2 separate regions of the Homo sapiens genome follow, and region 2 is linked to region 1. Evidence: promoter capture Hi-C in 16 types of primary human blood cells and fetal thymus (Javierre and others, 2016). All regions are on one chromosome and are shown on one strand. Each heading gives the region's core, a stretch centred on a gene start or on the middle of the fragment in contact. The rest is flanking DNA. Distances are from core to core; before and after follow the strand shown. Region 1 holds the start of DNAJC21 (DnaJ heat shock protein family (Hsp40) member C21). Region 2 holds the start of C5orf22 (chromosome 5 open reading frame 22).

What was found. The method cuts DNA at HindIII sites, captures the fragments that hold promoters and counts their contacts. A CHiCAGO score of 5 or more calls a contact.
Region 2: a fragment that was not itself captured here is called in contact with the fragment with the promoter of DNAJC21 in region 1 in 5 of 17 cell types (total B cells, M2 macrophages, total CD4 T cells and 2 more); the score reaches 9.4 in total B cells.

What each region holds. Positions count from the first base shown.
Region 1 is chr5:34,927,791-34,935,665 of GRCh38, forward strand. DNAJC21 (DnaJ heat shock protein family (Hsp40) member C21) reads left to right here and starts at 1,769. Exons shown (of 12, transcript NM_001012339.3): 1 at 1,769-2,126; 2 at 6,025-6,118. The coding sequence starts at 2,030. It overlaps LOC124900961 (a long non-coding RNA gene), which reads right to left and starts at 1,891. Exons shown (of 2, transcript XR_007058731.1): 1 at 1,859-1,891; 2 at 1-1,343. RefSeq lists silencers at 1,445-1,914, 1,925-1,994, 2,025-2,224 and enhancers at 2,253-2,898, 2,365-2,534. The HindIII fragment of the contact is 5,598 bases long and covers 684-6,281 here.
Region 2 is chr5:31,532,270-31,538,059 of GRCh38, forward strand. It overlaps C5orf22 (chromosome 5 open reading frame 22), which reads left to right and starts at 32. Exons shown (of 9, transcript NM_018356.3): 1 at 32-204; 2 at 2,003-2,148; 3 at 3,475-3,624. The coding sequence starts at 124. RefSeq lists enhancers at 1-73, 104-153, 204-253. The HindIII fragment of the contact is 2,278 bases long and covers 2,884-5,161 here.

The DNA.
Region 1 (7,875 bases), core at 519-3,018:
TGTCACCCAGGGCTGTAGTGTGGTGGTGTGGTCATAGCTCACTGCAGGCTCTAACTCCTGGGCTCAAGTATTCCTGCCTCAGCCTCCTGAGTAACTAGGACTACAGGCCCACGCCACCATGCCTGGCTTTTTTTTTTTTTTGTAGAGACAAGTTCTCGCTATGTTGCCCAGGCTCGTCTTGAACTCTTGGGCTGAAGGGATCCTCCTGCCTCGGCTTCCCAAAGTGCTGGGATTACAGGCATGAGCCACCACGCCTGGTCAAGATGTTCCTTTAGACTGAAATTTATATCCAGCATAGTTACCTTTAATTATACAATGTTACAGGCAAAAATCCTTCTTACTTCAGAAGGTAAAAGAAGTAAGTGATTCCTACAGGCTGTATCCAAAACCAAATCAAGTTGGAGGGAGAAAATACTCCAAATTAAGTTGGAGGGAAAAAAATACTTTCCCTTTCCGTTTTTTTTTTTTTTTTTGTCCCTCCCTTCCCCCCGCCCACCATCCCAATTCTGTTCTCAGGAGGGGAAAGGTTTCATTCTCCCCCAAACTCAGACTTCTCAATCCTTATCCATTACCAATTTACCAACTAACTGAGACTGTGTAGAATCTTCCTCTGGAAAAAAGGGAAGTGTATGAATTCTGAGTAGTGAGTTGGTTGGTCAGTGGCGTGTGAAGTAACCTGATGAAGCTTAGCGTGGGTTTTTTATTTTACTGGGGGCAGCATATTGGGGAAGAGAAGGATAACCTTACTAAACCGCTTGGGTACGCCAACCCTGTGCAATAGATATTAGCAACATAGCTAACCATACATGGTTAGTAAATACAACCCACACCTAACTGATGCATGTAAACATTCCACATTACAGTGAAATATATTGGTGTATTAATGCATTTTAATAATTATGGTATTATTTTGATACCTTTCAAAGTGTTTGGAATAATTGTGCAGATAGTCAGATCAACCAAAACCTACCAGTTAAATACTATCCTTTAACTGCTTTCTTAACCTAAACCAATCTTGGAAAGGTAGGATTAGAGGCCAGAAAGTTAGGATTAAAGTGTGTTGGATGGATAGATCAGCACAATTTCATCCATGTTGGTGGTAAGGCTTTTCATTAAGTGTGTTGATGCTTCCCTTTTAAATTGTTTCCGCTTAAATAATCTAACTGTCCTTTCTCAAGCATATTGGTCAAGATGATCAATACCAGATATCTTAAGTGGCAGCTGAAGAGAATTAAAGAGATTAAAAAAAAAACCTGATATTCAGTCCAACCGAATTCTGCTACTGTATTAGCTGAGGAGGCTTGAGCCAACCACTTGACCACTTGGAGTCTGAATCGCCTTATCTATAAAAACGGGGATCCATTGAGAAATTATAATCAGATATTTTCCAGAATCCTCTCCCATCCCAGCTCCTATCTCCCCCTTCAGCCCTCAGGTCGGCTGCCACTCACACTGACCGCCATCTGTGCCCCTCACAATGACACCAGCGTGGCCCTGCCTCCCTTCCGCGCGGCCCCGCCTCTCGCCCCGCCGAGGCCCCGCCTCTCACACCAAGGTCCCGCCTTCCTCCTGTTCTTCCCGGCCAAGGCCTACCTTCCTCCCACGCGGCCCGCCTCTTTCCCCGCCAAGCTCCCGCCTTTCTCCTGCGCGGCCCGCCTCTCTCCTCGCCAAGGCCCCGCCTTCCTTCCTCGGGGCCTCGCCTCTCACCCCGCCGAGGCCCCACCCCCTCCCGCGCGGCCCTTTCCGGCACAGAGCCCACCCCTAGCCCATGCGAAGCGGCGGCCGCCGGCACCGCCCCCGCCGCGCTCCCGCTTGCCGCAGCCTGCGTCGTCTGCCGCCACCGCGCGCCTTCACTGACCTACACCACCGCCGCCGCCGCCGCCGCCGCCGGGCTCGCTGGCTGGCCCGGTGCGGGCGGCGGACTCCCGCCGGAGAGGACTGCCAGCGCCGCCGCCGCCGCCGCTTCGGCCCGGGCCCGGGCCCCGACCCCGTCCCGGGCCCCAGCGCCGGCCGCCCGCCCGGTCGGGCGATGAAGTGTCACTATGAGGCGCTGGGGGTGCGGCGCGACGCCAGCGAGGAGGAGCTCAAGAAGGCCTATCGGAAGCTGGCCCTGAAATGGCACCCGGGTAAGTACCTGTCCCGCAGCCCCCGCGGCCACTCGGAGAAGCCCGGCCCTCCCCGACCTTCCCTTCCCCCGGGCGGACTCCGCGGAGCCAGCAGAGAGGGACCTGGCGGCCTAGGAGCTCCTTGCCCCGCCCGGCCAGTGCCCGGAGCCGCCCTGCCCGTCTCGGTGGGCGAAGCGCTCTGCCCTGGCGCACCCCGGCTCACACCCCATCTCCTCATACCCGCGACCCCGGCCCCGCATCGCCACTGTAGGGGGAAAACTGCAGTCCAACAACCTCACTTGCTCCCGCTACCGGGTCGCAGACACCACGAGGGAGCAGTCGGGAACTCGGAACTCAGACCTGCCCCAGGCTTGCTTTTCCCTGCGTCCCTTGCAGCGCAGCCTCTCGGTGTTTTTCCTCCGCTGCCCTCCACCTCGTCCGGGAATCCCAGATACTTCAACCTGATGTATGGCTCTTTTCGTTTCTTAGTTAAGAAGTTAAGACACGGGAGCTAGTAAAATATCTTTTCAATAGGGATGCGCTTTTTTCGCTGTTTTTTTTTTCTTTTAATAAGCTGTTTAAGCAGACCTTGTACTTCACTTTGGACATGATTCTGCCGGGGAAGGTTTTAATCAGGCGGCTTCCCCAGTAAAGTTTGTATGTTTACTTAGAAGTATCCTTCCTTTGGATGTTTCATTGGTCTGTAATCCAGGCCTGTGTGACTTTTATGAAGTAATCTGATCTTCCAGGCTGGGAAACTAAGAGAGTAGTTGACTTTCAGCTTTTTGAGGTTCATATGAAGAGGCTTTCATATTAGCATTCATCAGTAAACACGGTTACAGAGTATCCAATATATGCAAGTCACTGCACTCTACTAAGTAGATTTGGAAATGCTGAGACAGGGGTCTTAGAGTCTTGTTAGGAAAACAACTTTCTGCCTTACACAAATGAAAAGTTAAATACAACTGCCAGAAAAAAATCGCAACATACATAATTGGTGGTTAGATTAATGGAACAACTAATATATGCTCCAGGAATTCAGGGAGGGAGTTACCATTTTGTATTGAGTCTTCCCCTTCTCAGAGGAGTTTGGACTGGATCGTAGAGGAATGCAATTTGGAAAAGTGAACTCAACAGTATGGAGGATAGCATGGTGGAGGACAAAAGATGTTCCGGGGGACAGTTTGACTGAAGGTGGTGTGTATTGCAGGTCTGAAAAATAGGGATTATGAGAGGAGTGGAAGGAAAGGTCAGGGACCCAAAGTCAAAAGGGAATGGCTATGGTGATGGAGTGAGAGATAGAGGTGTGGGTCTGTTACTTAAAGTTATGCTTACCAACAGAGGCGTGAAAAAATGTGATTATAAATATATTAGAAGAGCAGAAGTAAATGAACTGATGTTCATCATAGCAGTAAGTCAGAAGATACAGCCAAAATTAATAAATGTAAAAATAGTGTAGAAGTATATTCTTAGAGTTTGGGTTAGTGTAGAAGCATATTCTTAGGAGTTTGGGTTGTTACTGTTAGAAATCAAGTTAGGAATTAGAAGGAAGTTCGGAATTCCTTGACTTTCTAGGTGGGAAAGGGTAAATGAAGTAGCGAATGCTGTGACCAAAAGCGTATGTAATTTTCTGAAGAGTGATTTTAAATCAGATTGTATTTCTTGAGTACAAGAGTAGTTTGAAATCAGATTGTATTTCTTGTAATCTTGAATATTAGCCCAAGGACTGTGAAATTTGCTTCGCTAAATAAGGGAGAGTTGTGGCTGGTTTTATTAAGCTGCCATGGGAGAGTACTATGAAGGCAACTTAGTGGATTGAAGAGGGCTGGAGACAGAAGTTAGGGAGAGTCCGCAGTGGACAGACAGGTAAGGGCCCAAGCCAGGCTTGGGGTCAGCGGGAGGGGGAAAGCGCAAGGGGAGGAGATGTTGGGAAGGAAAAATGACCAGATTTGGTGATTAATTAGAAATCAGTGCTAGGAAGAAGCATGCAAATATGACTAAAGTATCAGTTAACTCCTTTGAAACCAAACCTGTTAGGAACTGAATGCAAATATCTTCTCTAAATATCATCATAATTTATGGCATCAGTGTGATGGTATCTGAGAATGGGCAGCAGGAAGCCCTGAAGAGCCATGTTCTAGGGCGGCAAAACTATTTGTAGATAAGACATTGCTGTCATGTTTTCTTGTAACTTCTTAGAAGGGAAGTATTGAGCTGTAGCTTAAAGAACTTTAGTGTGCTCCGGCCAGGTGCGGTGACTCACACCTGTAATCCCAGCACTTTGAGGGGCTGAGGTGGGCGGATCACCTGAGGTCAGGAGATGGAGACCATCCTGGCCAACATGGTGAAACCCTGTCTCTACTAAAAACACAAAAATTAGCTGGGCGTGGTGGCGCACGCCTGTGGTCCCAGCCACTTGGGAGGCTGAGGCAGGAGAATCGCTTGAACCCAGGAGGCAGAGGTTGCAGTGAGCCAAGATCGCGCCACTGCACTCCAGCCTGGTGACAGAGCGAGACTCCATCTCAAAAAAAAAAAAAAAAACGAACTTTAGTGTTCTCCATAGTCAATTCAAAATGCTTTACGTTCTGAATATATTAGTTGTCTATTGCTGTGTAACAAATTACCAATACCTCAGGGCTTAAGACAACAAACAACAAAAACAGCAAGCCTATGTTGACTATATGGACTCCCACAGTTTCTAAGGATGAGAATCTGGGAGCGGCTTTGCTAGGTGGTTTTGGCTTTCTCATTGTCTGAAAGAACCTGCTTCCAGCTCACCAACTCACCAGCTCACCAACCACCAACTCATGTGGTTGTGGCAGGCCTCAGTGCTCTGCCGGCTATTGGCCTCCTTCACCCCATGAGCTTCTCCAGCTTCTCCATAGGCAGCCTGAGTTGCTCATGCTATGGCAGCTGGCCACTCCCAGAGTGATCAAGAGAGAGGGAAAGCCCAAGGTAGAAACTGCAGTCTTTTATAACCTCATCTCGGAAGTGAGGTACCATTACTTCTGCCATCTCCTGTTGGTCACACAGACTACCCTTGCTGACACAGAAGGGACTGCACAAGGTGTGAATGCCAGGAGGCGGGGTGCTGTCTTGCAAGCTGGGTACCACCCTGAGGCAAGGACGCTTTCTGAATTCCATGGTTCAGGAAGCACAGCTAAGGAAATAATAACTAATTAGTGTATATTTTTTAAACTTTATGAGATTTCTTTTGATATACATTGATGAGAAAGAAAAAAACAATGTCAGCACTAAACATAATCTAGTACAAAATAAGTCTTTCTAGAACTGATTTTATTTATTTTACTCCTTTTAAAAGTAAAATTTATACTACTCAGGTTTTTCCTTTTGTGGATATCCAGTTGACTTGTTTTACTTTTATTTTATTTTATTTTATTCATTTTAGAGATGGAGTCTTGCTGGAGCACAGTGGTGCAATCTAGGCTCACTACAACCTCTGCTTCTTGGGTTCAAGTGATTCTCCCACTTCAGCCTCCCGAGTAGTTGGGACTACAGGCATGCGCCACCACACTGGGCTAATCTTTTGTATTTTTAGCAGAAACGGGGTTTCACCATGTTGACCACCAGGCTGGTCTCAAACTCCTGACCTCAAGTAATCCACCTGCTTCGGCCTCCTAAAGTGCTGGGATTACAGTGGGCGTGAGCCATCACGCCCAGCCCAGTTGACTGTTTAGTGATGTACCAAGGCTTAGGGAAAAGCCTGAAATTTCTGCTTAGATTGTTGCTTTTAACAAATCCTGATTATTGACTGTTACGTGGAGTCTTTCTGCTTGGCCCTGGTTGTTTCTTGTTTTGTGCACGTCTCATCTGTTTGTGGCATTTCTGATGGAAAATGTCTTATTTAGATTCTGTCCTGTACGTTTTTGATTGACTTAAATTTCTGTGACTTTAACAGATAAAAATCTGGATAATGCCGCAGAAGCAGCTGAACAATTTAAATTAATCCAAGCAGCATATGATGTGTTGAGTGACCCTCAGGAAAGAGCATGGTGAGCATCACGCTGTCCTTCCCATCCTAGTTTATGATGTTGGGAGCAGTTATCAATATAGGTGGTTGTTTTTTCAAATTTAGTACATTAAATGGTTTTTGGTGTGTTCTGAAACATCTGTCACCTAGTCATCACATAAAATCTAACGTTTGGGTCAGAAGGAAGCTTGGAAATGATTGCTCCAATTATCTGATATCATAGGGGGTGAAACAAAGTTTGGTGATATTATATAGTTTTAATTTTGATACTTTAGGTGACTTCTCATTAAATACCCTTTGGTGTATGATAGATTTACTGATATCAGACAGGTAGAAGGTTTTCGTTTTTTGTTTTTTTTTGAGACGCAGTTTTGCTCTGTCACCCAGGCTGGAGTGCAGTGGCGCAATCTCAGCTCACTGCAACCTCTGCCTCCCAGGTTCAAGCGATTCTCCTGCTTCAGCCTCCTGAGTAGCTGGGACTACAGGTGTGTGCCACCACACACCTGTATTTTTTTTTTTTTTTTAGTAGAGACGGGGTTTCAGCATGTTGGCCAGGCTGGTCTCAAACTCCTGACCTCAAGCAATCCACCTGCCTTGACCTCCCAAAGTGCTAGGATTACAAGTATGAGCCACTGTGCTCAACCAATACAGTGTTTTAATACAAGAATGGTAATCCTCAAAACTACTTTATATGAAGAAATTGAATTAAGCTTCTGCATCTGTGACAGATATTACTAATGATGGTGTGATCATTTAAAATAATTTCCAGATGAAAATTACTATGTTGAAGTTCTGAGTTTTCAGATTCTCAATTAACTTTTTGCTACAAGGAAATAGGTTTTAAGCTTTGACATAACTGTGCAAGATCCTGCTCTTACAAAGAGCTACTGTGCAAGTCATCTTTCTGTTAAACAGTGTACAACCAGGTGGTTGTCAAGAAAGAAAGGCTGCAAAGAAAATTCTTACAAAATTGTGTTTCATAAGAAACTCAGAGAGAGGATCCTGAACATTTCTCTACTCAAGGAATTTGGAGATCTGGTCTTAGAATTGCTTTTGCCTTCTTCCCAGAACTTTGAAATTCTTTCCTGACTTCCTTTTGCCTACTCTCTTCTCAAGATCTTGGGTTGTTTTCTGATCCTTGGGATTCCTTTGTCTTTTTAGTCAAAGCTCTTGCCTAGTAACTCTCTTTTTACCTGGAAGCAGTACCGTGTAGTGGCTAGGAGCTGGTCTTCCCAATGTAGGAGACCTGCTTCTGAATTCAGACTTTGCTGGTTACTGGTTTTATTATTATGGATGACAAATTATGTAATATCACTGAGCTTCCATTTCCTTTTATATCAGATGGAGATAATAACTGCCTTTACAGAGTTATTATGAGAAGCAATTGTGTGTGTGTGAAGCTCCTAGATTAAGTTGACATAAATTTAGGAAGATTCTTATTCCAGTGCATCTTGGTAAATTTCCAAATCACAGATGTGTAATGATTCTGTGGGCCAGATTTCCTATGTCCTGTTTTATGTTTCTTTCCTGTGGAAGTACGGGACTCAGAGACAGTCATGGAAATTCCTTGGCTTTTTAAATTCCCCTGTTCATGTGGGCTAGCATTGTATAATGTATCAGAAGTTGCAGGCCTAGTTATAATTAACAGTTCTGTGAAAGATTATGAACTCTTTTCATGTTAATATTTCATTAAAAATTTTTGGTTATGGATTGGACATATCAACAACCAAAAATGTACAATAATAATATTCAAAAGGAGCAAGAAATCCTTTTGAATTC
Region 2 (5,790 bases), core at 2,773-5,272, 3.4 Mb before region 1:
CGAAAACGCAACCGGGTGAGGGAGCGCTTCCGCCCGGAGAGAGCTGGCCGGGATGAGGCGCCGGCTTTCCCGGGTCTTCTCCAGCTGCCACCGCTTTACTGCAAAACTGACGGGCGCAAAAACATGAGTGACTCCGCGGGAGGGCGCGCTGGTCTCCGGCGTTACCCCAAGCTCCCAGTGTGGGTGGTGGAGGATCATCAGGAGGTGAGCGGACGGCAACAGGGCTCTGGGGCAGAATCAGCGGAAGCCCTGACGCTCAGAGGGCCAAGCAGAGGGCGCAACCTTAGCATCGGAGGCCAGAGAGTTAACCAGAGTTAAACTGCCCTATTCCGTTGCTGTGGAGAGGACCCCAAAACAGCTAACTAGGAAGAATGAGAACTGACATTTATGGGCGCTTCCTACGAGTCGGGGCAACTTATTTACCTCGGTTTGCCCCCAAATCCCAGAACCAAACAAAAGGTGGCATCGGGATTCGAAACCGGACAGTCTGGCTGCAGAGCCCTGTGTTCTTAACCTGCAGTTAACTCTGGCTTCCAAGTATCTCCTGGAATCGCCACCACAGCCCTGCTGTTTAGATGGGAGGCTTTATGCTTGGAACGTGGGCTCTGATCTGAAATGGGGACAGTAATCGTAGGACTCACAGGGCTCTTAGGAGTATTATTGTGTGCATACTGTGTTTAAAAATCTTTTTTTTTTCTTTTTTGAGACGGAGTCTCTCTCTGTTACCCAGACTGGAGTGCAGTGGCGCGATCTCGGCTCACTGCAACCTCCGCCTCCTGGGTTCGAGCGATTCTTCTGTCTCAGCCTCCTGAGTAGCTGGGATCACAGGCACGCATCACCGTACCCAGCTAATTTTTGTATTTTTAGTAGAGACGGGGCTTCGCCACGTTAGCCAGGATGGTCTGAAAGTCTGACCTCACGTGATCGGCCCCCGCCGGCCTCCCAAAGTGCTGGGATTGCAGGCGTGAGCTACTGCGCACGGCCCATATTGCGTAAAAAAAAAAAAAAATTTAACACGGTGCCCTGCATAGATAAACACTAAAAGGGGTTTCCATGTTTATGGCCGTGCTGATTTACAGTAGCCAAATTGGTGTCTTAATCTAGACTTTTCCAAGTCAACAAAGGAGGCCCATGGATCTAATAAATATGTTTTAAAGTAGCATCAGTAGGCTTGGGATGGGAGGCAGTTCTCTGGACGTTAAAAAAGAAGAGGGATTTACTGTTGGTGACAGCTAATAGGAGAGGAAGATAGGTTTCTCAGGACCTGGATATAGTGTCTATGACCTTGAGAGAATGAGAAAGCCTAGGTTAGACGGTGCTTTCAAATTAGGTATTAAACCTAGAATTAGAGAAGATGTAAGAGGAGAAATGGCCTTTATAGACCACCTAGCCCAACCCCACCATTCTAAGTGTACCAAAAAGACCCTAACCAGCCTGGACAGCAGAGCGAAATCCCATCTCTACAAAAATAGAAGTGAAAAAATTAGCTGGGCGTAGTGGTGCGTGCCTGTAATCCCAGCTACTCAGGAGACTGAGGTGGGAGGATCGTGTGAACCCAGGAGTCCAAGGCTGCAGTGAGCCATGATCACACCACTGCTTTCCAGGCTGGGCAACTGACAAGCCCCTATCCCTTTTTAAAGGAAAAAAAAGAATACTTTGAGACCTAGGGTACCTTGAACACCTAGTTAATGTTAGAACAGGCATTAAGCGGTAGTTTGTTCCTGAGCCCCAGTCCTGGTCTGTTTCCCCACATGACCTGTTGAGTTCAAGGGGGCAGCAGGAAGGCCGCTGGAGATGCAGGTTGGAAGTTCTGAGGACAAAGTAATGCTTGAGATTATCATCTGCACCATCTACAGTAAACAAATTTTATGTTTTTCCACTTTACAGCAACATAGTATGCTTTCAATTATGTGCATTATTTAGCATTGTTTTTCAGTCTGCAGTTGAGTGTGTGCTCATGGTTTCAGTGTTAATTCTTATTGTGTGCCTGTGTCTTTTACAGGTTCTACCCTTTATATACCGGGCCATAGGCTCAAAGCATCTTCCTGCCAGTAATGTAAGTTTTTTACATTTCGACTCACATCCAGACCTCCTTATTCCTGTGAATATGCCAGCAGACACCGTGTTTGATAAGGAAACACTCTTTGGGTAATATGTGATTTTATTTATGGTCTTTTGTGTTTGAAGTACAATTTGCAGTAGATAATAAGCAATTATAGGAAATAGACTTTGCTAAACTCATGGGTTTGGGGGTTTTTTGTTTGTCTTTTTGTCTTTTTCATTTTATTTAGAACAAGTGTTGACAACTTTCTTAAAGAGCCAGATTAGCAAATATTTTAGGTTTGCTGGCTATATGGTCTCTGTTGCAACTATTAATCTTTGCCTTTGTAGTGTGAAAGCAATCACAAGCACTGTGTAAACAAATGACAGTAGCTGTGTTCCAATAAAGCTTTATTTACAAGCTGGGCATGGTGGATGAGCCTGTAGTCCCAGCTACTCAGGAAGCTAAGGTGGGAAGATCACTTGAGGCCAGCAGTTCCAGGCTGTGATCAAAGCCTGTGGATAGCTGCTGCACTCCAGACTGGGCAACATAACCAGACCCCATCTCTTAAAAGAAACAAACCAAAAAAACTTTGTTTACAAAAACAGCCTAGCCAATGTTTAATCCTTTTAATATTTGCCTTTATAGAGACCATTGGATTCTCACGTCTATTTCTGCATTTAGTCCATTGCCATATGCTGTTTTGGTTGAAATATATGATGAAGATTCAGGCTTTCACAGGCATGTAATTGGAAAAGGAAAGAATATTTTGATAGCCTTTTTAGATAATTGTGAATATTCTTTGATAGTGCGCCAAAACTTGAAAAGTAGTAGTTTATTAAAGCTTATTTGAAATGTAGAATTCAGCAATTCAGTATCAAGTGTGAATAACCATAGTTTCTTGACCACTCCTTTCAAGATAAATGGTGTTCACCTCAAAGTTCAATCACAAGTGCTTTTCCTTGAGACAACTGTTATGCTTCAAACTATGTAGCAGGAGAGCTTTCTGTGCATTTCTCATTTTGCCACACATAATATTTAAAAATGTATACTCAGGATGGAAATTTAATAAAATCAAGATGTTCTCGAATGACACTTTTATATTTATTTATTTATTTATTTTGGCAGTGGTTGGTAATGAAGAATATAGTAACTACTAACAGTTTGGTGCTGCTGCCTTAATTAATGTTGGAACATCAACCCACCAGTGCCTTTGCACCATCTTTGCAAATGTCAGTAAATGAAAACAGGAAATAATGCCTTAGTATTTTCATGAAAATAGTTTTGTAATAGTGATGTCCCTGAAAAAGTCTCAGGAACCACTCTAGGGACCACACTTTGAGACCTGTGGTCTTAAAATGTTGTGGATAAAATTACACTTGGGAAAAAATAAAAATAAAAGTTTTAATGTTGTCTCTATGTTTCTTTTCCAGAGAATTAAGTATTGAAAATTGGATTATGCCTGCAGTTTATGCTGGCCATTTTTCACATGTAATATGGTTTCATCCCACATGGGCTCAGCAGATCAGAGAGGGCAGACACCACTTTTTAGTAGGCAAAGACACTTCTACCACAACAATCAGGTAATTTCCTCATATTTGTGAATATGGAAGTGATTGAATGTTTCTATCTTATTTTGGATTCCTATAATAACTTCATAAGTCTCTGCACACAAATAGGGTCAGATTAAGCCTCGACTTCTCCAAAGAGTTCTCAAAACACGAAGAACAAACTTTTAAGTCTCTTGATATTCTTCATGTACCATTTATATTTAGTTGCTGGTCAAATTAGATTTTGAATGTGATCATTATCCTCCGGAATTTGGGCTTCATTGGTGATTAACTCCTTAAGCCATTGAAGTATCTTATAGATTTATACATTCAGTAGTACATTTTACTGTTTCCTGTCAGTATAACTGTTGTCTGCTGAATTTGCCGCAGTGGCTCACGCCTGTAATCCCAGCACTTTGGGAGGCCGAGGTGGGCAGAAGACGAGGTCAAGAGATCGAGATCATCCTGGCTAACATGGTGAAACACCGTCTCTACTAAAAATACAAAAACAAATTAGCCGGGCGTGGTGGCAGGCGCCTGTAGTCCCAGCTACTCAGGAGGCTGAGGCAGGAGAATGGCGTGAACCCAGGAGACAGAGCTTGCAGTGAGCTGAGATCGTGCCACTGTACTCCAGCCTGGGCAACAGAGTGAGACTCTGTCTCAAAAACAAAACAAAAAACAAACAAACAAAAAAACAGTAATTAGCAGTGAAAGGGCAAAATTATCTCACTTTGATTTTTTTATAAATCCAACTGCTGAATAAGTAGATTTGGGGCTTTAATTTTCTTTATAATATAATTAGTTTCAGATAAGTACTTAATCTAAAGTAAATTACAGTATCCTCTGACTTGAGATAAATATGCAACTGTTTTTATTGTATAAGCTATTTAACAATGTTTTGTGTATCTTGTGATACTATAATACTTTCAGAAATATCAATATGTTCTTGACTTTAAAATTCTCTTGTGATGGGATAAATATTTTAAACAGTATAGCCATAACTTTCTAGAACCTTAAGGATAATGGAGTGAAATGGTAATACGTTGAAAATCAGATAGTCTTCCTCATTGAAAATGATACTTTATTTCTAATTTATTCTTAATGATACAATTAACTTTTGTAGTATATAATCTTGTCGTTTGCACAAATAGCTTTGTTGTGATATATGAAAATTGTATTTATTTCAGATATAATTCAAAAGAAATAATTAAGACTCAGCATATAAATATTGTACATACTACTGGTATATGTGAAATAGTAGTAGGGTTTTTATTGAGTACTTCAGTGAGTAGGCCTGATTTAACCTACAAAATCAAATAATTTTCAGCAATCTGACACAGACATTTGAAACTCCACGTGTGATTAACAATTTTGGAAGATTTTGATTCATGACTTTGGTTAATCCTGCAAGTAAAAATGTATGGAAGAGACACATATACATGTTGGTGTGCAGTTTGACAAATACTTGCATGTTTGTATGATAGGAACATGGGAGAACTGCTGTTATTAAAAAGAATATTAATTTAGGTTGGGGGATACAGCTTCATCTTAGGGTTGTACAGTTTTAATAAGCTTGGACATTAGTTTTACTATGTCATTAATCTATTTTTGGAAAATAGCTTTTACAGTTTATAGCTGTGTATGCTGGGAGAGGTCAAGTGGGAAATAAATATTAACCATGATTTTAGGTGGGTAAGGCATGCCTCTAGAAGAAGTATTTGGCTTCACTGTTTGAAGTATTTACCAAGTCACCTTTCATACTGAGAATATTATGGTTATATAGAAATTAACAAAGCTCTAAAATATGTCAGGGGGAGTTTCTATTAAGAGAAATTATTTCCAGATGAAATTTTTCTCTTCAATGATTTTTTGGATAAAGATTCAGCTGGTATGAGAGAGAACAAAGGAACACTGGCTTAAACAAGAGAGTTTATTCTTATATTAGAATTCACTGTACACAGTCCAGGCCTATGTGGCAGCTCTAGAGTTTGGGGAACCCTAGTTCCTTCTACCTTTTTGCACCACCGTCTCTAGAATATTGCCCCTGTCCTTATAGTCCAGGGTGGCTTGCCACCTCTGTGTTCATATGCCAGTCAGCAGGGAACAGGAGAACAAAGCTCTGCATGCTTTTCTTCCATTCACAACCACCGGCCTTAATTTAATCACATGGCCACACCAGGCTGCAAGGCAGACTGAAAT